5 separate regions of the Homo sapiens genome follow, and all the other regions are linked to region 2. The links are contacts of gene promoters, found by promoter capture Hi-C in blood cells and fetal thymus (Javierre and others, 2016). All regions are on one chromosome and are shown on one strand. The core of a region is centred on a gene start or on the middle of the fragment in contact, and the rest is flanking DNA. Distances in the headings are between cores, read along the strand shown.

Region 1 (4,636 bases), core at 2,013-4,512, 4.6 Mb after region 2:
ACAGGGTTAAAAAGGAAATTTCAGTGTCTGACATGCTTGGAGAAGATTCTAGAGCACTTCTAGATTTCTAGAAGTACTTGGACCTGAGATTTCGTCTGCCAAGCCAAGTACTAGCATTCAGTTCTATAAAGCAAGTAACAGTATCCTTTACTTCACTCTTAACAGTTTCTTTTTGAAAAAACAGACTCCAATGTAAAAAAAAAAAAAACAAAACTCTTTTCACTTCTAAGTACCATTGGACAAGGGACCCCAGTGATATAACAGAAGGGCATTGGTAACCCCATTTCTGCAAGATGGGATGGAACCATTCTTTCCTCCTGATCCTACAATAACCCCAACTCTTCTTAGAGCCAGTGATTTCTTCTTTTAGATCTATTAGATGGGAAGATACGGCACTCTCCTGTGTGTGTGTTTGCATTTCTTTTAGCAAGAAAAACTGCAAAAATCCTTCCCAAGAATTTCCCGTTTTTCCTATTCTGCTTGCATTTTTCTTTTCGGCCACGGGGTGCGCGCAGTTGAGCTATTTTGGCTCAGGTTCCAGATTGTGAGGTCAGAGACTAGGGATTGGAGGAGAAGATCAGGTGACTTTCAGTAACAGAGATGGCGGTCCTCCCATCTCCACCCCTTCCCCCCCTCATCTTTCCCCACCCTTTCCTGGCTTCCACCTCAGGAACAAAGAAGGGAAAAAAACAGCAGTATGACGAAAACCAGCAGCTGTCTCTGCAGGCTCAGGCTGGGGGCTGGGAGTTTATTCCATCTGTTCTCTTTGTTCTGCTCTTACCCTGTTACTTCCCTTCCCAACCCTGAATAAAACAGAATATTTCTAGAATCCTTTGTTATGGAGAATGGTTTAGAATTCTGCAGTTTACTCAGTATTTATTTAGGTTAGCGTGGGTGAGATACAGCAGAGATTAAAACTGATCTGGAGCACCTAAAAAAAAGATGAAGGTACTTTGCCTTCTCATTCAGTCTTAAATTATGAATACCTATTTAATGTCAGATTTGTGACAGGGGATTATCAACTATTATTTCCAATTATCAAAACATTATTTCCATAATGCCTAATTGGTATTATCTTTGTTTTATAATTGAGAGATATAAAAGAGAATTAATATGTCCTTTGCTTGTTAAGATTTTATAGCAAGTAAACACCAAGCCAGAATTTGAGCCTAGATATATTGGGCTCAAATCCAGCACTTAGTGAAAGGGAGTGGCAAGAATGCAGGCATGTTGAGAGAAACCTCAGGTGCTTGCTTCCAGTGACTGACAGTGTAAAGTAACTGTGCTAGTGCTTCTTGATTTTTACCAGTGATTAGTGTCCTGATTTCTTCAACAAATAAATTTCAGGGGAAAAAATGAGATGGAGAGGAACATATAGATTAAGAGGGAATTTTAAATTTTATCAACCAGTACAGTATATGGAACTTATTTAGATCTTGATCCAAATGAACTATACAAAACACTTGACAGTTGAGACAGCTGGAAATTAGTGTGATAATGGTTTCATGGCATTTTTTAAAAAGTCATCATCTTTTAGAGATGTGTACAGAAATAATTGCGGATCATTATGGGATTTAGAAGTGGGGTGTAGATGAAACAGAATTGGTCACGAGTGGATAACTGTTGAAACTGAGTGATGTATGCATGGGGATTAATAATTGTGTTTTTGAATGTTTAATTTTTCCCATAATAAAACATTTTTTAATCCAGGAAAAGAGTTTTATTTCTAGTACCTTATTTTAATGCCTTTTCTTCTGCCCTCTAGCCTATTGTTTCCTTGCATAAACCTGTCCTCTTTGCTGACATACCTGAGTCCTTGTTTGGGATAGTGCCTGTCCTTCCAGTCCTTCCCCACCCACATCCTAGAAGCAGACCTCTTTTTAGCACTCCCTAATTGAGTCACCATCCTGGGTGTGCTGGGAAAGTATCTGTGGGAAACTCAATGACTATATTATCTGAAAGACCAAATGCTTGGTGAAGTGCCCAGATTTTTAATACTGCTTTTCTGCTACCCTTCCAGACTTATATCTGTCCCCTTCTTTATAACTCTCAGCATCTGGTTCTTCCTTTGGGATTCTGTGTGGCTTTGTTCTTGTCCTTTAGGTTTGTTCATTAATGCCAGTTTGCCCTGTCCCTCCTTACAGCTTGCACATCTGTAATGGTCTAGTTCTGTGGGATTTTGCAGATAGTTGTATATTTTGGCCAAGGTATCAGTGATACGGTTACCTTTGGGCAGGGATAACTGCTATTCGGTTGGCATGATATTTTTTCCTTCTATAATGTATACCTTAGTGATTGTTTTAAAGTGCTGAATTTATCCCTTATGTATATTACAACCATGAAGAATATAAATCAGAAGTCCTCCATTTGGGCAGCTTCTTATATTAACACTTATATTAACATTAAGACCCTCTTACTGTCTCCTCTTCCCAGAATTAGAGAGTTGATGTAGTGCTTAATAGACATGGCTTATTGTATGCTAGGTGAACTTGGCAATTCCATAGCTATGTTACCCTCACAGAAAGTTATTTCCTGGAGAGATTATTAAGTGTTCTGATCTTTCATATATGCCTGAGAGATCTAAGATTCTTCCACAAAGACCCTATTTCTTCAGAGAAAACTATAGTGATGCCAGAGTCTTTTTTTTTTTTTTTTTAACAACTTGTGATTTTTGTGCACCTGTGTTGTATGTGTTGCCATTATCTCACTTTAGGGACGTTGGATAAACTGGCGTATTTGTGCAGCCTCATTTAAGTAGTGGCAACCATTAATGACTTGTACCCACAAGTTTTTCCAGATAATTTCTGTTTTTTCCACCTTTCTTACATGTTCTTTTTTAGTCATAGGTACTTGGCTTACTCAAGGGAGGTGTAGCGTAAGATAAAGATAATGGAGGGTGTTCCCTGTAGAATAGGTACAAATGCTGCAGGCTTTATCTTGGGCAGAGCAAGTAGGGTTTTGGTCCTGAGTAAGTGAGTGAGGTTAGGTGGAGCTGCCTGTCTTCCAGCCGTGCGGATACAACTGACTCAGTCCGTGTTCTCAACAGTTTTTGAAAAGCCCATTTTTCTATCCCACTTACTCCCACCTGCAGTTCTTTAAGAACGTAGTTTCCAGGATGTCAGGCAACTCCCCACTCCTCCATTTCCTGTTTGTGGTCTTCATTGAGAGACGCCTTAAACAGGAATTCCTGGGGAAGTGCAGGCTATAGCGGTGGGATTCCGGGGGTCATTAGTCCATTATTGAAGCTGGGGAATCATGTACTATAAAAGGACCTCCCTTCCGTTCTGTTGTCTCCTAGAAACTATTACTGATCATAACCAAGCAGTAACTGCAACTCAGGGCTGTTGACTTGTGCCCTTTGTCTTTAGAGACTGAAAATTATTTTCCCTTCTTGTGCCTCAGTTTCTATTAGTTGAATTTTAGAGCTCAACATCAAGATTTGTGACAAAATTAACTTGGACTCTGTAGGACTGATTCGTTTGAAATGCAAAAGTAGTGAAGAACATAAAACAGACTCCCTATCTTGGCCGCCAGGGGGTGCCCTTTCCCTTCGCTTTACTGTCTGGCACTCCCCACCGCATTCAGCCATTTTAGACAGATTGTTTTTGCTCCCAGCTAACTCCATTTTGTATTTGTGACGCAGGAATAAAAAAAGGAGTTAGGCAAAGGAGGAGTCTGGTTTGCAGAGGGAGGGAGACTGGCTGAGGCGCAGCTACGTACTCTTTTACTCAGCAGTTGCTCATCAGGGACACACCTTGCTGCAGGCTGCCTGCATCCTGAGCAATCGATGCCGCAAGTCCTTGCCAGCGGAGCACAGAGCAAAATGGTTTGGCTGCCGGACACCTACTAACAGTGACAGAGTGCTAGCTTTTGAGGCAGCAGGCCAGGGCATCCCCTCTGCCTCATCTAGACTCTAATCCTGGGTTTAGGTGTTTTTGCTACAGAGATGTTTAGGGCAGTTTTCTTAATTATAGGATCAGATAAGAAAAGATACCCCCAAAAAAAGAAGAAAAAAAGGAACCCCTTTCACTTAGCTGTCTGGGAAGAATCAAATGCCCCAAGGACTCTAGGGAAATGGTCCTGAATTTTTTTAAAAAATGTTATTTTTGAAACCGTGAAAAAAATGCACGCACACATACACACATATATGTAAAGAGACTAGTATGAACACCCCTATGTCCATCACCCATTTAAAAAACTTAATCAACAGCTAGTCTTGTTTCATATACCTGTATCAACTTTGTCTTTGCCACCCATTATTTTTACATGTATCCTTGTTCATATTATTTAATCCTTAAGCAGTTCAGAATGTGTGTCAAAAAAATTAGGACTTTTAAAAGAAGATAATTACTACCATTATCACATTTAAAAAATTCTTTATCATCAGATAGCCAGTTAGTATTAAATTTCCCAAATTATCTTATGATAGTTGTTTTTTTTAATAGTTCATTTGAATCAGAGCCAAATAAAGTCTACACATTGCAGTTGGTTGATGTCTCTATAGGTTCTCTCTTATGCTCTTTTTTATTTTTTATTTTGCAATTTATTTATAGACTTAATTTCTTTTAAAAAGATCTCTGCCAGGCGCGGTGACTCACGCCTGTAATCCCAGCACTTTGGGAGGCCGAGGCGGGCG
Region 2 (4,844 bases), core at 2,169-4,668:
GCCCAGCCAGCTAATTTTTTTAATTTTAATTTTTGTAGAGACAGGGTCTCGCCATGTTGCCCAGGCTGGTCTTGAACTCCTCAAGTGATCCACCCACCTCAGCCTCCCAAACTGCTGGGATTACAGGTGTGCAACACCATGACCAGGCTCAGTCACTTAAATGGGAAAATTACAAAAGTTGAATTTGGAGACATGAAGGCAGGTTTTTCATAATTTCTAATAAAATACTTACTTGTTTATTTTCTAATTTAATGTCTCATGCCCTTTAGACTGTAAGCTCCATGAAGGAAGGGACCATGGTCTGCCTTGTTCTTGACTCCATCCTAGCTCTACGTCAGGTTTATGGGAGGTACTCAATAAATATTTGTTGTATGAATACTTTCAATTACCAATGTGGATTGGAAGGTGATGAATCAAAGAGATGAAAATAGTACTGGTTAGGGCAGAATTGGGACAAGAAATTAAAGCTATAGTTATAAGAGCTGTGGAGGATGAGGATTCTTTCATTCATTTAATAAATCTTTATAAGGCACCTGCTATGGGCCTGACATTGTGCTAGGCACAGTCTCTGCTGTTATGCAGATTTTAGTCTAGTGATAAATAAACAGGCAATTCATGAGATGAAATTTCCAAGGCAAGGGGTGCTTCAGGGAACATCTAGTGGGGAGCATTTAACTCAGACTTGGGCTGTCAGGAAGTGATGACTAAATGGTTGGTAGCTAAAGGAAGAGGGTATGGAAAGTGAGGGAGGCAGCCTAGAGGCAGGAGAGCGACTGGTAGCCTAAGGTTCCTTCTTAACTTTTTCCTTTCATCCAACAAATTTGTATTGACCCCATATCATATGCCAAGTATTGTTTTAGGACATCGTTGAATTTGTATTTCAAAACTAGTTGTTGAAAAATGTAAAAAAAAAAAAAAAGTTCTGTGTGTATGTGTTTGTGTGTGTGTGTATTCCCTTCCCTTAAACCCTTAGGTAGACACACATCTGGGCTGCGTTCCCCATCCCCTTAAAGGGTCCCCAATCCCTTAAAGTGCATTGTAGATGCTTAATGTTTACTGGGTTAATAAATTATCACGTGAGTAACTAATCTGTGGTTTTTTTTTTTTTTTTTTTGGAGCTGGAGTCTCACTCTGTCACCCAGGCTGGAGTACAGTGGTGTGATCTCGGCTCACTGAAACCTCTGCCTTCCGGGTTCAAGCAATTCTCCTGCCTCAGCCTCCTGAGTAGCTGAGACTACAGGCACATGCTGCTAAGCCCCGCTAATTTTTTTTTTTTTTTTTGTATTTCCAGTAGAGGTAGGATTTCACCGTGTTGCCCAGGCTGGTGTCGAACTCCTGAGCTCAGGCAATCCGCCCACTTAGGCCTCCCAAAGTGCTAGGATTACAGGCGTGAGCCACGGCGCCCGGCCATTTGTGTTTGTTGTTGTTGTTGTTGTTGTTTTTTGAGATGGAGTCTCACTCTGTCTCCCAGGCTGGAGTGTAATGGCATGATCTCAGCTCACTGCGACCTCTGCCTCCTGGGTTCGAGTGATTCTCCTGCCTCAGCCTCCCAAAATTCTGGGATTACAGGAATGAGCCACTGTGCCCGGCAAGAAATGAATTTTAAATTTTATTTATTTTTAATTAATTTGAATTTAAATTGCCACATGTGGCTAGTGGCTACTGTATCAGACACCATATATCTCTGTATGGTAGCATAGTCTTTTTTTTGTTTTGTTTTTGAGACGGAGTCTTGCTCTGTCGCCCAGGCTGGAGTGCAGTGCTGCCATCTTGGCTTACTGCAATTTCCACCTCCCGGGTTCAAGTGATTCTCCTGTCTCAGCTTCCCAGCAGCTGGTATTACAGGCGCGTGACACCACGCCTGGCTAATTTTTGTATTTTTAGTAGAGACGGGGTTTCACCATCTTGGCCAGCCTGGTCTCGAACCTCTGACCTCGTGATCCACCTGCCTCGGCCTCCCAAAGTGCTGGGATTACAGGTGTGAGACACCGTACCCGACCAGTCTTTTTTTTTCCCTTGAGATGAAGTCTCGCTCTGCCGCCCAAGATAGAGTGCAGTGGTGCGATCTCGACTCAGTGCACCCTCTGCCTCCTGGGTTCAAGCAATTTTCCTGCCTCAGCCTCCCGAGTAGCCGGGACTACAGGTGCACGCCACCATACCCAGCTAATTTTCGTATTTTTAGTAGAGACGGGGTTTCACCATGTTGGCCAGGCTGGTCTCAAACTCCTGACCTCAGGTCATCCGCCCACCTCGGCATCCCAAAATAATGGGATTATGGCCACCGCCCCTGGCCCTGTTTGGTAGTGGTCTAAATAGTCTGAGTCAGGCAATGGGACCAGGTAGGCTTTCAGTCTCTTGCTTAAAAATGGAGATTGTTGGCCGGGCACGGTGGCTCACGCCTGTAATCCCATCACTTTGGGAGGCTGGGGCGGGCGGATCACGAGTTCAGGAGATCGAGACCATCCTGGCCAATATGGTGAAACCCCGTTTCTACTGAAAATACAAAAATTAGCTGGGCGCGGTGGCGCGCGCCTGTAGTCCCAGCTACTAAGGAGGCTGGGGCAGAAGAATCGCTTGAACCCGGGAGGCGGAGGTTGCAGTGAGCCGAAACCGCGCCACTGCACTCCAGCCTGGAGACAGAACGAAACTCCCTCTCAAAAAAAAAAAAAAAAAAAAAAAAAAAAAAGGAGATTGTTGGCTAGGTACGGTAGCTCACGCCTGTAATCCTAGCACTTTGGGAGGCCGAGGGAGGCAGATCACGAGGTCAGGAAATCGGGATCATCCTGGCTAACAAGGTGAAACCCAGTCTCTACCAAAAATACAAAAAATTAGTCGGTGTGGTGGCGCGCGCCCATAGTCCCAGCTCCTCGGGAGCCTGAGGCAGGAGAATTGCTTGAATCCGGCAGGCCGAGGTTGCACTGAGCCAAGATCGCGCCACTGCACTCCAGCCTGGGCGACAGAGCGATACTGCGTCTCAAAAAAAAAAAAGGAGATTGTCAATACGCGGTTATACAATGTCTAAATGCTGGGCTGTTGAATGCCACTGACAGTAAAAAATATCTGTGCATAGTGGCAAGCCATAAGTAGCACCTCAGTCACCGTATAGTAATTAACTGCGTATCCTGGCATCCCGACAGGCAACCAGCTCTACCGGGTGAAAAGGTTGATGGCCAAGGGACTCCAACCTAACCAGGGCGCACTCGCGGCATTCTGCGATCCCGCACTGCATCATGGACTTTGTAGTTCAACATGCCAGTGACGTCACTGCCGGTTCCCCTCTGAGTGGGCCTATCGGGTAGACTTCCGATAACCCGTTTTTCTCTGGGAATTGTAGTCAGTTAGCGCCTGCTGGGTGTCTGCTCGGGTGGTCTGGGAACTACAATTCCCGGCGGGCTGTGAGATGCCTTGGCTGTAGTTAGTAAGGAGCCGGATGATTGCCTCAGCAGGTGTGAAGCGTGTGCTTTAGTTTCGTGGGAGGCCTGGCATCCCCGAGAGGGAGGGGAAAGGTAACCACTCCTTTGTGGAGGTCGCCAGGGTCATTGTCGTGGATTTGCACAGTCGGCTGGGCGGTGCAATGGCGGTGAGTTTGAGCGAGAAGAATCCGCAGGGGCCCTGGAGCCGGACTGGCCAGTCTCTAGGGGCTCTCCATGTGCTGTCCTGAAGGGAAAGTCCTTTTCTAAAAGAGAGCCACGCTTAAGGCGTGCCTTTCGTAGAGACTTTGCTTTTTCTTGCTAGTTTATGAACCACGAACTGATGTCTGTTAACTTTACGGAGTACTTGGATATCATATTTGTTATTTCTCTGGAGTTTCTAAAATCGAGGTGGAGAGCCGGGCACGGTGGCCCACGGCTGTAATCCCAGCACTTTGGGAGGCCGAGGCGGGTGGATCATTTGAGGTCAGGAGTTCGAGACCACCCTGGCCAACATGGTGAGACCCCGTTTCTACCAAAAATACATAAATTAGCCGGGCGTAGTGGTGCGCGCCTGTTAACCCAGCTACTCGGGAGGCTGAGGCAGGAGAATTGCTTGAACCCGGGAGAGGGAGGCTGCTGTGAGCCAGGATCGCGCCACTGCACTCCAGCCTGGGCGACAGAGTGAGACTCCGTCTTAAAAATAAAATAAATAAATAAACAAACAAATAAAGCCGAGGTGGAGAGAGGAGTATGTAAGTTGATTCCTACTTACAGCAAAAAAAAAAAAAAAAAAAAAAAAAAAAAAAGAAAAAATTGAGCGCCTCTCCGTAAAACAGACAAAAATCTCTCTTTTCATAGTGTTTATGTGTGTGGGTAAAATACATTGTAAAATATTGTGTCAGGTGCTGATAAATGCTGTGGGGAAAAAATAGAGCAGGAAGGGGTGCTAGGGAGTGTACGGTGGGGTAGTACAGTTGCAATTTTTAAAAATTTTTTTAAATTTGGGAGATGTTCTCACTCTGTGACCCAGACTGGAATGCAGTGGCGTGATCATGGCTCACTGCAGCCTGGACCTTAGGGCTCAAGCGATCCTCACACCTCAGCCTCCCCACAGCTGGTACTGCAAGCGTGCTCCATTACACCCTGCTAATTTTTTGTATTTTTAGTAGAGACAGGGTTTCGAACTCCTGGGGTCAAGCGATCCTTCTGTCTCAGCCTCCGAAAGTGCTGGGACTACAGGCATGAGCCATCCCGCCTGGTTTTATTTTTTTTTGTTTTTTGTTTGTTTGTTTGTTTTTTTCTTGAGACGGAGCCTTGCCCTGTCGCCAGGCTGGAGTGCAGCGGCGCGATCTCGGCTCACTGCAACCTCCTCCTCCCAGGTTCAAGCGGTTCCCCTGCCTCAACTTCCCGAGTAGCTGGGACTACAGGCGC
Region 3 (4,900 bases), core at 2,000-4,499, 4.6 Mb after region 2:
TCTTTCACTATGGGTTTATAATACCACGTCACTCTTCTTAAAATTAAAACTCTCCTTTACCTTGCACTTAGAAGAAAATCCAAAATTTTGACTGTGGCTTAAAAAGGTCCTGCATGCTAGCCCTTACCTACATCCAGGATCTCATCTCTAACTACTCTCCTCCATGCACAGTGCTCCCGGCTGTCCTGGCCTCCTTGTTCTTACTGGAATACATCAGTCTCTTTCCATTTCATGACCTCTGTAGTTGGTTTTCTTGCAGCTTGGAATGGCCTTCCTGAAGTCTTTGCCTGCTTAGCTCCTCCTCAGACTTTAGGTCTTATGTCCCAATAGTCCTGTCTGAAATTTCACCCTTTTCCTCTCATCACCTTCAGTCCTATCACTTCATTTTATTAATTGTACTCTCCATCATCTGAAATTATTATATTTATTTACTTTGTTAGTTACTAGTCTCATTTATTAGGTAAGCTTTTTGAGGATAGACAACCTTGTCCAGCTTGTTACTCTACTGTATTGCTAAGGTTTATGACAGTGTCTGTATAGAGTAGTTCCTTAATGTTTATTTGATACGTGAATGGGTGAATGAATAGCAGTCTCTACCAACAAGAGGAGGAGTGGTTCTCAACGGGGCCTGAGAAATGGCTTTGGAAAAGGGTGCTGGGAGAAGATTAGAACTTAGAGTGAGATCCTGACCTCTCTCCCCTTGCTTTGCAGGCCAGAGGCACCCAATGAGTTCTATGATGGAGACCATGACAATGACAAGGAAAGCGATGTGGAGATTTAAGAGTGGCTTGGGATGCTGTGTCCCAAGGAATTTCTTTTCACCTCTTGGTTGGGCTGGAGGGAAAAGGAGTGGCTCCTAGAGTCCTGGGGGTCACCCCAGGGCTTTTGCTGACTCTGGGAAAGAGTCTGGAGACCACATTTGGTTCTCGAACCATCTACCTGCTTTTCCTCTCTCTCCCAAGGCCTGACAATGGTACCTATTAGGGATGAGATACAGACAAGGATAGCTATCTGGGACATTATTGGCAGTGGGCCCTGGAGGCCAGTCCCTAGCCCCCCTTGCCCCTTATTTCTTCCCTGCTTCCCTCGAACCCAGAGATTTTTGAGGGATGAACGGGTAGACAAGGACTGAGATTGCCTCTGACTTCCTCCTCCCCTGGGTTCTGACTTCTTCCTCCCCTTGCTTCCAGGGAAGATGAAGAGAGAGAGATTTGGAAGGGGCTCTGGCTCCCTAACACCTGAATCCCAGATGATGGGAAGTATGTTTTCAAGTGTGGGGAGGATATGAAAATGTTCTGTTCTCACTTTTGGCTTTATGTCCATTTTACCACTGTTTTTATCCAATAAACTAAGTCGGTATTTTTTGTACCTTTCGCCTTTCTAGGAATGTTAATTCTTGCTAGTTTCCTATTTATGAAAGGAGAGGGAAATGGGCATGATGATGCATGTAATAAAAGCATAGTTAACATTCATTCAGCACTTATCCTACGTTAGGCCCTGTGTATGTATTCTACATTTATTATTGTAAATATAAGAAGTTAATAGAGGATTTTGGTTAAGAGTTAGACAAACCTGGGCAGATTTGAGAGGAGTAGAAGATGACTTCAGGTTTTTGAATCTGGGTGTTTAGAGTAGTGATGCTAGTTGGTGAAGATACACTGAGATAAAACATGTTAAGTGCTTAGCACAGTGCCTGACAGAAGAAGTTGCCCATTATCTGTCTATGTGAAGAACAATGCTAAATACTGTAGTAGCCACAAACATGAACCTTTCTCTAGAAGAGTTTACATTCCAGTCAGTAGTATGATAAATATTGTAGCAGATACAGACTGATACAAGAAAGAGGACTGATAGATGGGTCACTTCCTCCCCTCCATTCTCTGATTCTGTCTGTTCTCAACACTAGCTTAGAAAGTAGCTTTTGGACTTTTTAGACAAAATGTCTGGAAAGCTCAGCACTAAGTCAAGTTTGAAGTATGGGATGGACAGCTCTATGTAACATTCTATCCGATCACCATCAGAAGGTCTGGACCACAAGAGAGATGAATGCCAAATTTAGGAGCCAGCCAGCTTGGCAGAGTCCCTGGTATATCTCAGGCCCTTGACTAGGTACTGGGGCTCTAGAGTAAGTAAGTCACTGACTCTGCCCTTCAGGAACTTATGCTTGAAATCTTGCTAGCTGTGGTCAAGAATATTCAGTCCATATTGTGAAGGCCGACTGGTAGCCACGTAACTGTCACACAAGGGACAGATGTAGCTGGGAGAATGGATGAAATTGCTTAGGGAGAAAGTCATGCTAGAAGAGCAAAGAATATACTCTTGGAGAATACTCATTCTTTTCACTCATGTTTGGTTTATGTCAGTGGGGAATCCTGGTTAAACATAGGGTTTGGCAGCAAATCAGACTAAGCTGGGTTTAAATTTTATATCAATTATGCGTTCTTGGGCAAGTCACTTCAACTCTCAAAAGTCCAAATTTACTATTTATAAAATGGTGAGGCTAGCAGAATCTATCACATGGGACTGTGGGGACTTAGAAAAATACATGTAGAGTGTTTGCCTAGTGCCTAGCAGAGAGCAAAGGGCATGGTTAAGTGGTAACTGTTATTGCTGTTTAGGCACATGTTGGCAATAATTAGTTTGTCCTGATTAGAAACAATTAGATGGTACCTAACCTGGAATTCGAACTAGGAAATTAAACTCCAGAGCGAGTCTGGTTTAGTCTAGTGCTTGCCCTGGACCGAGCTCTGTTCTTGCTACCTTGCTTTCAAAACATGGTGGCTATCACTATAATTTTTTTCATGTGTTCCATGGGTATTGCACACATTGAAAACTGCATTCTCTTGGAAAACCTGTCACTAATTTTCTGCCAGGATAATGGTCTCACGCGATTTTTGGTCTGGGATGTGAGAGGGTCCAGGCTGTCAGGCTGTACAGCCACGTGGGCGCTGCGTGGGAGCCAGAGGCCTGCGCTGCTCCAACCGCCAGGGGGCGGTGCTCTCCGCCGCGGCCGCGGAGAGCTGCACCGCCCACTCACCACCCCCCCCCACGTGGGTCCGAATGGTTAGGTCCGCTGGGCAGGTAGCGCGCTTCCGCGGCTTCCCTCCGCCCCTCTCCCTTCCCCCATTGGTAGGGGCTGCGGGTCCGGGCGGAAGTGGGGCAGGCGGGCGGGAGCGAGGCGTCGTCGTTGTATATTCATGAGGCGCGCGCAGCCCGGCATGCTAATGAGGCGGGGCGCGGCGGCTGGCTAAAGAGCGACTGGGCGGCGGCGGGCGCGGAGCTGCCAGGCGGGAGCGGCGTAGGCGCGGGGTCGCCGGCCAGCGTGAACCGGGACATGGAGCCGCCCGGCGGGAGCCTGGGGCCCGGCCGCGGGACCCGGGACAAGAAGAAGGGCCGGAGCCCAGATGAGCTGCCCTCGGCGGGCGGCGACGGCGGCAAATCTAAGAAATTTGTGAGTGTCCCTCCCATCCCGCTCCTGCCTGGCCCCGTAACCGCCCTCTGGACCCCTGCAGCCGGCCCCTGGGGCGCCTGCCCGGCTTTGGGGAGCCGCCCCCGCGCCTTCCTTCCTCGTTTCGCTCGGTCCGCAGCTCTGCAGCCCGACATCCTCTCCCTTCGGGACCTCGGGAAGCCCCGGAATCCCACCCGGCTCTTGCCCCGGCCACCTCGGGGCTTCCCTCGTTCCCCAGCCCTTACATTCTGCCCTCCCGCCCGCATATCCCCGGCCGGCTCTCAGCCCCGTCTCTCCCCTCTCAGCCTCACTTCCTTTCTTCTTCCTCCAGTACCCGAACACGCCTCCTCTTTTTTGGTCCCCTCTTCTGGGTCCATTTTCTCTTCTTAACCTTACACCTTTTTTGGTATTCTCGTATTTCCTTCTCCTAAAGGTCACTTCCTTCTCCATGATTCATCCTTTTTACCTGCTAACTTTCCTCCCGCCCAGTCCCCCGTGGGCCCTCCGCCCGGTGTCACTTGATAATCCTTCCCCTGAGGAATGTTACCTGACTTGAGCCCTACCCCCAACTCCTTCTTTGGACGTTTGTCCTTGCGATTACAGGAATGGGCTCCTGCCCAGGTCCTATGGTCACTGGGGCATGACGTTTATTTGTTTACCAGTATTCCTCTCTCCAGAGAACCTCTCTCTTTGCCCTGTTGCTTATCACTTTTCAGAGGATTAGAACTCTCATGATTGTGCCCTTCTTGACCTAGGATGGTGATAAACCTCTCCTGTGGGAAGAAAGTTGGACTGCGAGTTCAAGAAGTTTGTAATTGAATTGTTTTTTATACATTTCCCATGATAACCGTCTCCTCTACTCCTTTTCTACTGCCTCTTGTGCCCCAAGGCGACTATCGGCTTCCCTTTGCGTGCCTGTAGAAGAGTAAGCTTTCCTCAAGTGCCAGTTACTTTCAATCCGAGTGAAGGAATAGTGATATACATGTAACCCTATCATATTTCATTACCTTTTGCCCACACCAACGCCTCTCTCCAGGGAGCCGTTTGGTTGCTTTTTTGCTATAAAAGCTTTGTAAGATACGGGGCACTGTCCAGGAGAGGAAAAGTCTTGGATATTGATGATCATTATAATAGCTAGTTATAACTGTAGCTCTTTTGTCTTCTCTTCCAGGTATTTATGCCCTTACACTAGTGTATCTTTCTACTAAACAAATGGCTTGTAACTCTTAGTCCCACCTCCCAACATTTTGACCCAGCTCCACAAATTTGGGAAGAAAACTGATAAAGCGATGGAAACAGGAAGAAAATGTTGTTTTATGACCTAGAGGGTTGAGATGTTAACCCTGGAGGGTTAGATGTTTAATTCTAAATAGAATTAAAATAGTGACTCATCTCTTCCTATTTCTAGCAAGACCAAGTGCTCCTGGACTGCCCTTTCCAGTGATATCTGAG
Region 4 (5,028 bases), core at 1,469-3,968, 4.2 Mb before region 2:
CTACTAGTCTGCTGGGAGAAGACTGGGCCCAAATGGTACCAGTCCCTTGGTGGAAGCAGAGGGAACCAGGTGGAATCCAGGCCTTTGGAGCAGAGGCCAGAGGGCCCAATGTCTCTGTAAATGTCAATAAGCCAGGATATCAAGTACTCTAATGAGGCTAAGCAATGTGGGGCACGGGTGGACTGAACTAATCTCGTCACGTCTTCGAACTTCAGATTTCTTCTTAACATGGGGACAACAGCGATACCTACCTTGCAGGCTGCTATCTGGTTTGAACAAGACCATCTGTCAGTGCCCAGCAGTGAGCCGGTAACACTAAGATTTCAAGAGTCAGTTTCCCTCTGCTCCACCTCAGGCAAAGTGTCCTCCTTGCTGTCCTCAAATGTGTCAGGCCACCCTGCCTCTAACGCGGCCTTGCTATTCTTCTTGTCTGGAATGTTCTCTCCCCTGTTAACTACACAGCTCACTCCCTCATTTCCTTCAGGTCTCTGCCCAAATGACACCTTCTCAATGAGACTTCCTTGACTACCCTACTTATAATCGAAGTCTGACATCCCTTATCCCCCTTGCCTGCCTTTTATAGCAAGCACCAACTATCATTGGATATACTATATCATTAACTTATTAAACTTTTTCTATTTGTCACCTGTCTGCTCCTACTAGAATGTGTGCTCCATGACGGCAGGATATTTTGCTCCAATGAAGATGGGTACTATCTCTTGCTCCCCTTATCTGTGAAGTACCATAGCTGCGGTAGGAAGAGCAAGTGAGGTTCAGAGAAACTGGGAAAAGCATACATAACGTCTTAGGGCCCATCACCCTTTAGTCCCTCCAGGAGGTTCTGAGAGCAAGCATTAGGAGCAGAGCCTACACCACAGGGCAAAGGGATCTGACTACTTAGGATACTGTCTCACCAGTTCAAAACTCTCCATTGGTTTACCACTGCTCTTCCAAGGAAGATCAAACTGCCCACCAGACCACTCCAGCCAGCCCCTGCCTCCATCTCCCCAGGGGCATCTGGCCCTTGTACTTCACACTTCAGCCACTATGGACGTTTTTTTTTTTTTTGAGATGGAGTCTCGCCTTGTCACCCAGGATGGAGTGCAGTGGCTCAGTCTCAGCTCAGTGCAACCTCTGCCTCCTGGGTTCAAGTGATTCTCCTGACTCAGCCTCCCGAGTAACTGGGACTACAGGTGCATGCCACCATGCATGGCTAATTTTTGCATTTTTAGTAGAGACAGGGTTTCACCATGTCGGTCAGGCTGGTTTTGAACTCCTGGCCTCAAGTGATCCGCCTGCCTCGGCCTCCCAAAGTGCTGGGATTACAGGCGTGAGCTACCGTACCTGGCCTGCTATGGACTTAAAAAAAATTTTTTTTTGAGACAGTGTCTTGCTCTGTTGCCCAGGCTGGAGTGCAGTGGCATGATCATGGCTCATACTGTATCCTCAAATTCCTGGGCTCAAGAGAGTGGACTTTCTCCAGGCCAGTGTGTACACAAGTTCCCTCCCACCACAAGGCATTTACACCTCAGCTATTCCTGACCAGGGCAATCTGCCATCCATCTCTCTTTTTTTTTTGAGGCAGAGTCTCGCTTTATCGCCCAGGCTGGAGTGCAGTGGCACGATCTTGACTCATTGCAACCTCTGCCTCCCGGGTTCAAGCAATTCTTGTGCCTCAGCCACATGAGTAGCCAGGATTACAGGCGTGCGCCAACATGCCCAGCTAATTTTTGTATTTTTAGTAGAAACGGTGTTTCACCATGTTGGCCAGGCTGGTCTCGAACTTCTGACCTCAGGTGATCCGCTAGTCTCGGCCTCCCTAAGTGCTGGGATTACAGGCGTGAGCTACCGTGCCCGGCCCATCCCTCTCATTCTTAACACTTATTGCGGTGCTAAGCATATAGTCACTTTTGTGATTCTTTGATTTGTCTACCTTACTAGAGTGTAAGCTCCAGGAGGGCTGAGAGATGGTGCTCACCATTCGAACACCAGGAAGCACCCTGAGTACCGGATTAACAGTTGAATTAATCAAGTAAGAAATGACTGTACCACGAGTTCGAGTACCAAAGCTGACCGTCTCAGTACAGACAATCGCTAAAGGCCTGAGTTCCAGCTCAACTAAGAGGCTGTAGGGTCCCTTTTCCAGGCGCTCCCCCGAGGGGCTGGTCGCAATCCACCCCCGAGACTCGCAGCAACCTCCTTGCCCCAGGGGGGGCCGCGCAGAGCCTAGCCACGTGGCGGGAGACTTAGGAAACTTAAAATACCCGCTACCAGGAAGGGCGTGGAGGTAAGGGAAGCGGGAATTACAAAGTTCGGCCCCTGCGAGCACACTTTCTGGCCCAACCCACTGCCCGGATGAGGAAAGTGAGGCCCAGGGGAACTGAAGTCGCAGTGGGAAGGCAGAGATTGCGGCTCCTCCGGTACCCCTGGCCGCGCCGTCGAGCACTGCGGGACCCGGCTCCGGGCGCCTGCCGGGTCGCCTGGGGACGGGGCGCGGGCCGCGGGCCGCTGATCTCCACATCTTGCACGCGGCCCTCGCACACGGCCCACGAACGCTTACCTGGCCGCTCTGCTCCTTCACTTCCCGCGCCGCACGCACATAGCCAGCCCGCAGCAGATGGTGGTAGATCAGGGGAAGTAGCTCCCGCCGCTTCCTGGCCTCGGCCATACCCGCGACCCCCGGCCGGCCGGCTACCTGCACGCCCCGCCTTAGTCCCCGCCCGCCACTTCCCTCGCGCCCTTAGACCTCGCGCGCCACACTTCCGGCTCCTCTTTCGCTCCGGCCGCGCGGCGCGCCGGGAAACGTAGTCCCCTCTCCGGGAGTGGCCGGCCCCGCCCCTCAAGGCGAAGGGGGCGGAGACTCGTGATCAACAATACCGCCCATTGGCGCGGAGCATGCGGGGCTAGACAGGGACCCGCCCCCGGGGCCGGCCGGGACTTGGACGACTCTCTTTTAATCCTTCCGGCTGGCTTCTTGAAGAGATTTATCTTCCTTGTTAATTCTCTGATGGCTGGGTCTGCGTTTTACTCATCTCTGAACTCCCTAATCTGGATCTTTCTCTAGATCCGAACTTTGTACTGCCATTACCTGCTCATTTATCCATTTCGCACGGTTTTTGGTGCCCATGAACCAGACACGAATTGCCAGTTTATTCATTGATTCATTCGCTAACTGAACAAATCTGTAATAAGCACCTAACTTGGGCTAGCACCCGGCTAGGCTAGGGGGATTCAAAAGATGCATAATACATGGCAGTTGCCCTCAAAGCTCACAGAGACGACTGTCCGTAACCAAGCAACTATAGTTCAATATCTTGTGTGCCTTGTCAGGGACAGATGCAGCCTATGGGCGCCCCAAGGAGGAGCACCGAACCCCAGAGAGATATCTAAGCTGAGGCATAAAGACACCCGAAATTGCTGGGTGCAAAGGAGAGGACTGGCAGAGGGCACTGCATGAGTCTAGGCATGAGAAAACACCCTGCTATTGCCTGGGAACCCTAAACCCAGAACCCCTAGTCTGCGCTGCTGGGCTGTCCAGGTGGGGTGGGGTGAGGTGGGGAAGAGGGAACAAATGAGGGCACATGAGGATGAAGAAGTAGACAAGGCCTACAACTCCCCCACCCCCAACAGAGTTTGGACTTTGCTCTGAGGGCATTAGATAGTCTCTGACTGGCTTTTCCGAGGAGGTTGACCCTGTTTTGTGTTTTTAAAAGATTGCTAAAACCAAAGCACATACCATTAATACTAAATGTGAGGCTGTTGTAGTTGTTGAGGGAAGGATGGCAGGGAAAAGGTGAGGTAGGCTGGAGAATGTTAGAGTGAGCTGTTCTTAACTTCACCGACCCATTGAGAATCTGAGGGCAGCATGTTTCTTACGGGCGCAGGAGTCCCTAACCCTAGGAGGTCCAGGTATGTGGTTATCTTTGTCTTGAACTTGAATGGAAAATGTTATGTGTCTGTACACATTCAACATTTCCCATTTTCTTGAGCAAATATTTATTGAGTACCTACCATTGGGGATGGAATAGTCTCTACTCCTATAGAGCTTACAGTCTAGTGATGGAATTGTCTCTACTCCAATAGAGCTTACAGTCTAACGGAGGAGACACATACTAAACTAATAGTCATACAATACAGTGTTACAAACAGCGGGTAAGTGCAGGAAGGAAAAGGATAGTGTTTTCTTATGTAATAATATAGTGTTTAAAAGCTGCACTGGAGTCACACTGCCTGGGTTCAAATTCTGGCTTTGCCTCATTAACTAGGTGACTTTGGGCAAGTCACTGTGACTCAGTTTCTTTATCTGTACAATGGAGATAATTATAATTTCTACCTCACTGGGTTGTCATAAGGAGTAAATGAATTCTCAGCAGAAATGCTTAGAGGAGCTCTGAACAATAGCGCTCTCTGTGTGCGTGTGTGCTATTATTGTGAAAGCATATAACAGGAAGGAGGGATCTATTTTTTTCTTGGGAGTTAGGGAAGGATTCCCTGAGAAATTAATGGTTATGAGGAAACCAGAACTGTGTGTAAGGGAGAGTCAGAGAGAAGAAACCTGAGCAGAGGGAAGAACCTGTGCAAAGGGCCTAGGGCAGAAGGTACAGCTGAGAGAATAGACACAAAAAGGCCTTTGTAGCATAGTCCGGAGGGAGAGCAGGGGGACTGGGGAGTGTAGAAGGTGGGCAGAGGGCAGACTCCATGTGAAGGATTGGCCACATCAGGGTTTTTTTTCCTCCATCCTAAGAGCCATTGGAAGCCACTGACGGTGTAAGCCCAAGAGGTACAGGATGAAATCTGAATTTTACTGTGACCTGTGTGCCTGCCCAGTGGAGAGTGGAGTGTGTCTGGTGGGTATGAGTAGATGTGGGAAGACAAGTCAGGGTTAGGAGTGCAGGCAGGCATCCAGGGAGAAGACAGTGTATGTGGGGGGGGGGGGCGGGTGGTAGGTGGCGGGGGCAGCGGGGAGGGTGCTGGTGGCAGTGGAGTTGAAGAGAGTGGAAGGTTCCCAGAGTTAATCAGGAACTAAAG
Region 5 (5,011 bases), core at 2,404-4,903, 3.4 Mb before region 2:
TGGCACGATCTCAGCTCACTGCAACTTCCGCCTCTCGGGTTCCAGCGATTCTCCTGCCTCAGCCTCCTGAGTAGCTGGGACTACAGGCGCCTGCCACCACGCCCGGCTAATTTTTGTACTTTTTAGTATAGACGGGGTTTCACCATATTGGCCAGCTGGTCTCGAACTCCTGACCTTGTGATCCGCCTGCCTTGGCCTCCCAAAGTGCTGGGATTACAGGCGTGAGCCACCGTGCCTGGCCTAAAAGACTCCTTTCATTACACCAAAGCTGCTGCTGATTCAATAAGTACAGAATGATTTGTGACTTTAACAGCAACACCAAAAACAGGTTATTCTTCAATCTTTTAGGCTAAAATTACTGCAAATGATACATGACTTTAAGAAGAAGGCTGAGTCATAGCCAACACCTGAGGACTTCATTTTCTATGTAAAAAAAAAAAAAAACAATTTTGCCATTCTTAAATCCAATAAATTTAAATCTTAAGAAACTAAAATCACATTTGAAAAGGCTAGACCCACTCACATCTCATTTTTGTGCATTTTGCTGGGCACTGTCAGTGTTGGAATGGTGACTATAGCAGGCAGGAAACAAAGGAGGACTCATACCTTATATACAAAATTATAGAATCTCAGGGTTAGAAGGGTTTCCAGAAGTCATTTAGACCAGTAGAATTTAATGGGCTTACACAAGTTCTAAAAAAAAGGCGAGGAGGATTAGACATACAAGTACCTATCATTCATTCATTCATTCATTCATTTATTGAGACAAGGTCTCACTCTGTTGCTCAGGCTGGAATGCTGTGGTTTGATCATAGCTCACAGCAGCCTGGAACTCCTGGAGTCAAATGATCCTCCTGCCTTGGCCTCCCAAAGTGTTGGGATTACATGCATGAGCCACCGTACGCAGCTTTCAACTTTTTTTTTGAGACAAAGTCTCACTCTCTTGCCCAGGCCGGAGTGCAGTGGCACAATCTCGGCTCACTGCAATCTCTACCTCCCCAGTTCAAGCGATTCTCATGCCTCAGCCTCCCAAGTAGCTGGGATTACAGGCATGCGCCACCACGCCCGGCTAATTTTTGTGTTTTTAGTAGAGACAGGGTTTCACCATGTTGGCCAGGATGGTCTCGAACTCCTGACCTCAGGTGATTGCCCTTCCTTGGCCTCCCAAAGTGCTAGGATTACAGGTGTGAGCCACTGCACCCGGGCTCAACTTTTAACCGAGCAAGAATATTTTAAAAACCAAAACCATCTACCATCGGCACCTTTTTATAAAAGAGCATTTTAATGACACATATGTGAAAAGACTAAATCTCAGAATGAAATATAATGTGAAATCAGATAAATAAATGAAAGATGTATTGCTTACTTTTCTCACATCCTCATGGCAAACTTTGTTAGCCACTTGCACCTGTCCATACACAGATCTTTGGGAATCACTAATTTAGACCACTTCATGCCCACCCTTACCCTGCCCCCGGCTTCATTGAGCATTTTTATCACAATACCAAAATATCCGTCTAAATGTATACCTCATCCCCTTATGGAGAACTCCTCAAGCTGAGGAATCCATTAAACTTTGGATGTGTGTGAGAAAATTAGCAGAAAAGGAGTGATCTCTGGAAAACTCAAGATGCTTAAACTTGGCTTTTTTTTTTTTAAGACCAGAATTGATTAATTAATTAATTTTTTAGATGGAGTGGAGTCTCGCTCTGTCTCCAGGCTGGAGTGCAGTGGCACGATCTCGGCTCACTGTAACCTCTGCCTCCCAGGTTCAAGCGATTCTCCTGCCTCAGCCTCCCTAGTAGCTGGAGCTACAAGGCACATGCTACCATGCCCAGCTAAGTTTTGTATTTTTAGTAGAGACAGGGTTTCACCACGTTGGCCAGAATGGTCTCGAACTCCCGACCTCAGGTGATCCAGCCGCCTCGGCCTCCCAAAGTGCTGGGATTACAGGTGTGAGCCCACCATGCCCGGCTGCATTTTATATCAGAATTTAACAGCAGATTTTAACTTAGTCAAAACATGCTTTAGAGTCACCAAAGGAGAATGATGTCTAACAGTGCTGATTTGGGAGTTGGGCACCCTGAGTGTTGGTTGGGCTTTAAAAACTTCATGCTAAACTTCAGGGGAAGTCTCCTCCCCTCTCTCTTCAGTTGTCTTCCGAGATGAACCCTATTACTAATTACTTGACCACCTTTCAAAGTTGCAGTTAAAATTCTTCACATTTTTCTCCCATTTCTATTTAATTAATTATTTTTTTTTTGAGACAGGGTCTCTCTGTTGCCCAGGCTGGAGTACAGTGGCGTGATCTAGTCTCACCGCAACCTCCGCCTCCCGGGTTCAAGCGATTCTCAGACTCCCGAATAGCTGGGGTTACAAGTGTGCGCCATCACACCCGGCTAATTTTTGTATTTTTAGTAGATACGGGGTTTCATCATGTTGGCCAGGCTGGTCTCGAACAACTGACCTCAAGTGATCTGCCCGCCCCGGCCTCCCGAAGTGCTGGGATTACAGGCGTGAGCCACTGCGCCCGCCCCCCATTTCTATTTTAATTAAATTTTATTTAGGATAGGCTTAGCTTAAATTTTTACGACTGAGGTCTGACTTAAGATGATAGCATCAACCATGGAGTTTTCTTTCGTGAACATTATTATTACTAAGCCCAATTTTCCCAGGTCAAATTTTGTAAAACAAAACGTGGTCAAAATTTGATTCTCTGATCGATTTTTTGTAAAAAAGAAAAAAATTACCGTGTAGTTTTAAATGTTGTCAATTAAATTTTGTAATAGTTACCTCTACTCTGTTCAGGTTAATACTGAGGTTTTCAACAAGACCAACATACGATTCTTTTTTTTTTTTTTTTTTTTTTTTTTGGTGGGGTTGAGGGGACATAACAGTTTTTTCACTCTTGTTAAATTAATTTTCTGTTGATTCCATCTATCCTTAATCTTCATTATGAGCAACATACCAGGTTTTCTTCTGAAGATCATATGTGGTAGTGAGGCAATAATGCAAAGACATAGGATGGCAGGGGGATTCCGGCTTCTTTCTTTCTTCCCCTCCTGTGGAAAGAGGGTCTATAACACTCCGTAGTAGATAGGACAATTCTAATTATGAAGGGTAATTAGCTAGGCTCTGCTACAACCGAGAGCCCTGAGAGATTCCTCGACGCTGGCTGCTTTTCTCTTCCTCTCCACCAGAGGCGACAGCCTCTTTCCAAACAGAAACTGGGTTGGAATAGGCCGGTCCGGGGGAACGGCCAGAAGAAAGATCAAAGGTTAAAAACCGCCTCAAAGAGCACAGGTCAATACCCAACTCCTAAGGAGGCCTTAAGCTTTCATCTGCCACGAAACATGAAGGTGACTCCTCCCAATATCAAGGCCGGGGGGCCACTCAGCCTTCCAGAGACCCGGCGGGTCCGAGGCGAGTAACAGGTAACACCTGCTGAGCCGCCGCCGACCGGAAGTGGAAGAGAGCCCGGGACGGGGGTGAGGACAGGCCGCGGCACGCCTGCGCAGTCAGCAGGAGTTGCAGCGCTCATGCGCAGCTGGGCGGTGACAGGGTGACGCTCGGAGCGTGGGCCGCGACTCTCACGGATCCGGTTCCGCCCTCTCGCTGCCGATCCTTCGGAGCGAGCGCCCGAGATCCCTTTCCCAGAGTGCTCTGCGCCGTGAAGAAGCGGCTCCCGGGGACTGGGGGCATTTTGTGTTGGCTGGAGCTGGAGTAACAAGATGGCGTCGTCCGCGGAGTGACAGGGGTCCCTCTGGGCCGGAGCCGGCGGCAGTGGTGGCAGCGGTATCGCCGCCCTAGCTCACCGCGCCCCTTTTCCAGCCCGCGACGTCGCCGCGCAAGCGAGGCAGCGGCGGCCGCCGAGAAACAAGTGGCCCAGCCTGGTAACCGCCGAGAAGCCCTTCACAAACTGCGGCCTGGCAAAAAGAAACCTGACTGAGCGGCGGTGATCAGGTTCCCCTCTGCTGATTCTGGGCCCCGAACCCCGGTAAAGGCCTCCGTGTTCCGTTTCCTGCCGCCCTCCTCCGTAGCCTTGCCTAGTGTAGGAGCCCCGAGGCCTCCGTCCTCTTCCCAGAGGTGTCGGGGCTTGGCCCCAGCCTCCATCTTCGTCTCTCAGGATGGCGAGTAGCAGCGGCTCCAAGGCTGAATTCATTGTCGGAGGGAAATATAAACTGGTACGGAAGATCGGGTCTGGCTCCTTCGGGGACATCTATTTGGCGATCAACATCACCAACGGCGAGGTAATCATCTGGGGTGGGGTTCACGATAACGCTGCGCTTTTACTCATTCCCCCCACCACCACCGTGCACCCCCAAAGTGCTCGGGCCTCTCCTCATCGCACGCACTCGCCAGGGAGTCCAGGGAGCTAGTTTTCCTGGCTTACGAACCTCGTCCGCTGTCTCCCTAAAAGGGTCAAGAACCCGATAGAAAGGTTGGGGGAACTAGTTTCCCACCTTGTTAAACACGTCCCATAAATGTCCCTTAGTCGAGCTTTTTTTTTTTTTAACCGTCTTTTAAGGTGGAAACGGCAAAATCCTCTTTCAGTGATTCCCATGTTTTTTTTTTTTTAATTCTTAATTCTACTGGGCCTCTTGTTCCAATTAGAACAGTTTCCGATCGCCTAGTTCCTTAAAAACCTCTCACTACGTTCAGAGGTTGCCTCTTTTTTCTGGATGAATCATTTTCCTGCACTTTAGAGGACGTACGGATTTCGTCACTACCCCCTGAAGAGGCCTTTGAGGCTGGTTGCCTCGTTTTATAATTACCGAGAGCTTTCTCTTTCCAGCTTTTCACTTCTTCTTGTAGTCGCGACTTGGAGTTTTGCTAATGTCTCCCTCCTTTCCTAAGTGACATTGAATCCGTAGGGATGTTGATGCCATCATCCCCTCTTTCCCCTGCAGGAAGTGGCAGTGAAGCTAGAATCTCAGAAGGCCAGGCATCCCCAGTTGCTGTACGAGAGCAAGCTCTATAAGATTCTTCAAGGTGGGGTTGGCATCCCCCA

The links. Contacts are between HindIII fragments. The CHiCAGO score rates a contact against its expected background, and 5 or more counts as called.
Region 1: a contact is called between the fragment with the promoter of DIAPH1-AS1 here and the fragment with the promoter of LARS1 in region 2, in 1 of 17 cell types (total CD8 T cells). The highest score is 7.0, in total CD8 T cells.
Region 3: the fragment with the promoter of DIAPH1 here is called in contact with the fragment with the promoter of LARS1 in region 2 in 2 of 17 cell types (total B cells and activated CD4 T cells); the score reaches 6.7 in total B cells.
Region 4: a contact is called between the fragment with the promoter of TCOF1 here and the fragment with the promoter of LARS1 in region 2, in 1 of 17 cell types (naive CD8 T cells). The highest score is 5.2, in naive CD8 T cells.
Region 5: the fragment with the promoter of CSNK1A1 here is called in contact with the fragment with the promoter of LARS1 in region 2 in 1 of 17 cell types (naive CD8 T cells); the score reaches 6.2 in naive CD8 T cells.

What each region holds. Positions count from the first base shown.
Region 1 is chr5:141,556,937-141,561,572 of GRCh38, reverse strand. DIAPH1-AS1 (DIAPH1 antisense RNA 1) reads right to left here and starts at 3,262. Exons shown (of 3, transcript NR_038333.1): 1 at 3,086-3,262. The region is part of intron 18 of DIAPH1 (diaphanous related formin 1); the gene reads left to right. RefSeq lists enhancers at 3,377-3,671, 3,432-4,284. The HindIII fragment of the contact is 6,603 bases long and covers 1-4,636 here.
Region 2 is chr5:146,181,224-146,186,067 of GRCh38, reverse strand. LARS1 (leucyl-tRNA synthetase 1) reads left to right here and starts at 3,418. Exons shown (of 32, transcript NM_020117.11): 1 at 3,418-3,580. The coding sequence starts at 3,575. RefSeq lists a silencer at 508-802 and enhancers at 1,980-2,826, 3,735-3,894. The HindIII fragment of the contact is 6,101 bases long and covers 1-4,844 here.
Region 3 is chr5:141,617,349-141,622,248 of GRCh38, reverse strand. It overlaps DIAPH1 (diaphanous related formin 1), which reads left to right and starts at 3,249. Exons shown (of 28, transcript NM_005219.5): 1 at 3,249-3,451. The coding sequence starts at 3,335. It overlaps HDAC3 (histone deacetylase 3), which reads left to right. Exons shown (of 15, transcript NM_003883.4): 15 at 712-1,368. The coding sequence ends at 781. RefSeq lists silencers at 2,895-3,554, 3,615-3,664, 3,475-3,671. The HindIII fragment of the contact is 3,913 bases long and covers 468-4,380 here.
Region 4 is chr5:150,355,387-150,360,414 of GRCh38, reverse strand. TCOF1 (treacle ribosome biogenesis factor 1) reads right to left here and starts at 2,718. Exons shown (of 27, transcript NM_001371623.1): 1 at 2,561-2,718. The coding sequence starts at 2,668. It overlaps LOC105378226 (a long non-coding RNA gene), which reads left to right and starts at 2,995. Exons shown (of 4, transcript XR_944407.3): 1 at 2,995-3,909; 2 at 4,745-4,847. RefSeq lists silencers at 2,291-2,510, 2,591-2,930 and an enhancer at 3,531-3,700. The HindIII fragment of the contact is 5,465 bases long and covers 1-5,028 here.
Region 5 is chr5:149,550,081-149,555,091 of GRCh38, reverse strand. It overlaps CSNK1A1 (casein kinase 1 alpha 1), which reads left to right and starts at 3,653. Exons shown (of 10, transcript NM_001892.6): 1 at 3,653-4,250; 2 at 4,911-5,011. The coding sequence starts at 4,128. It also overlaps a transcript of ARHGEF37 not described here. RefSeq lists enhancers at 3,076-3,145, 2,703-3,496, 3,196-3,865, 3,896-3,955, 4,086-4,145 and 1 more. The HindIII fragment of the contact is 4,606 bases long and covers 3,337-5,011 here.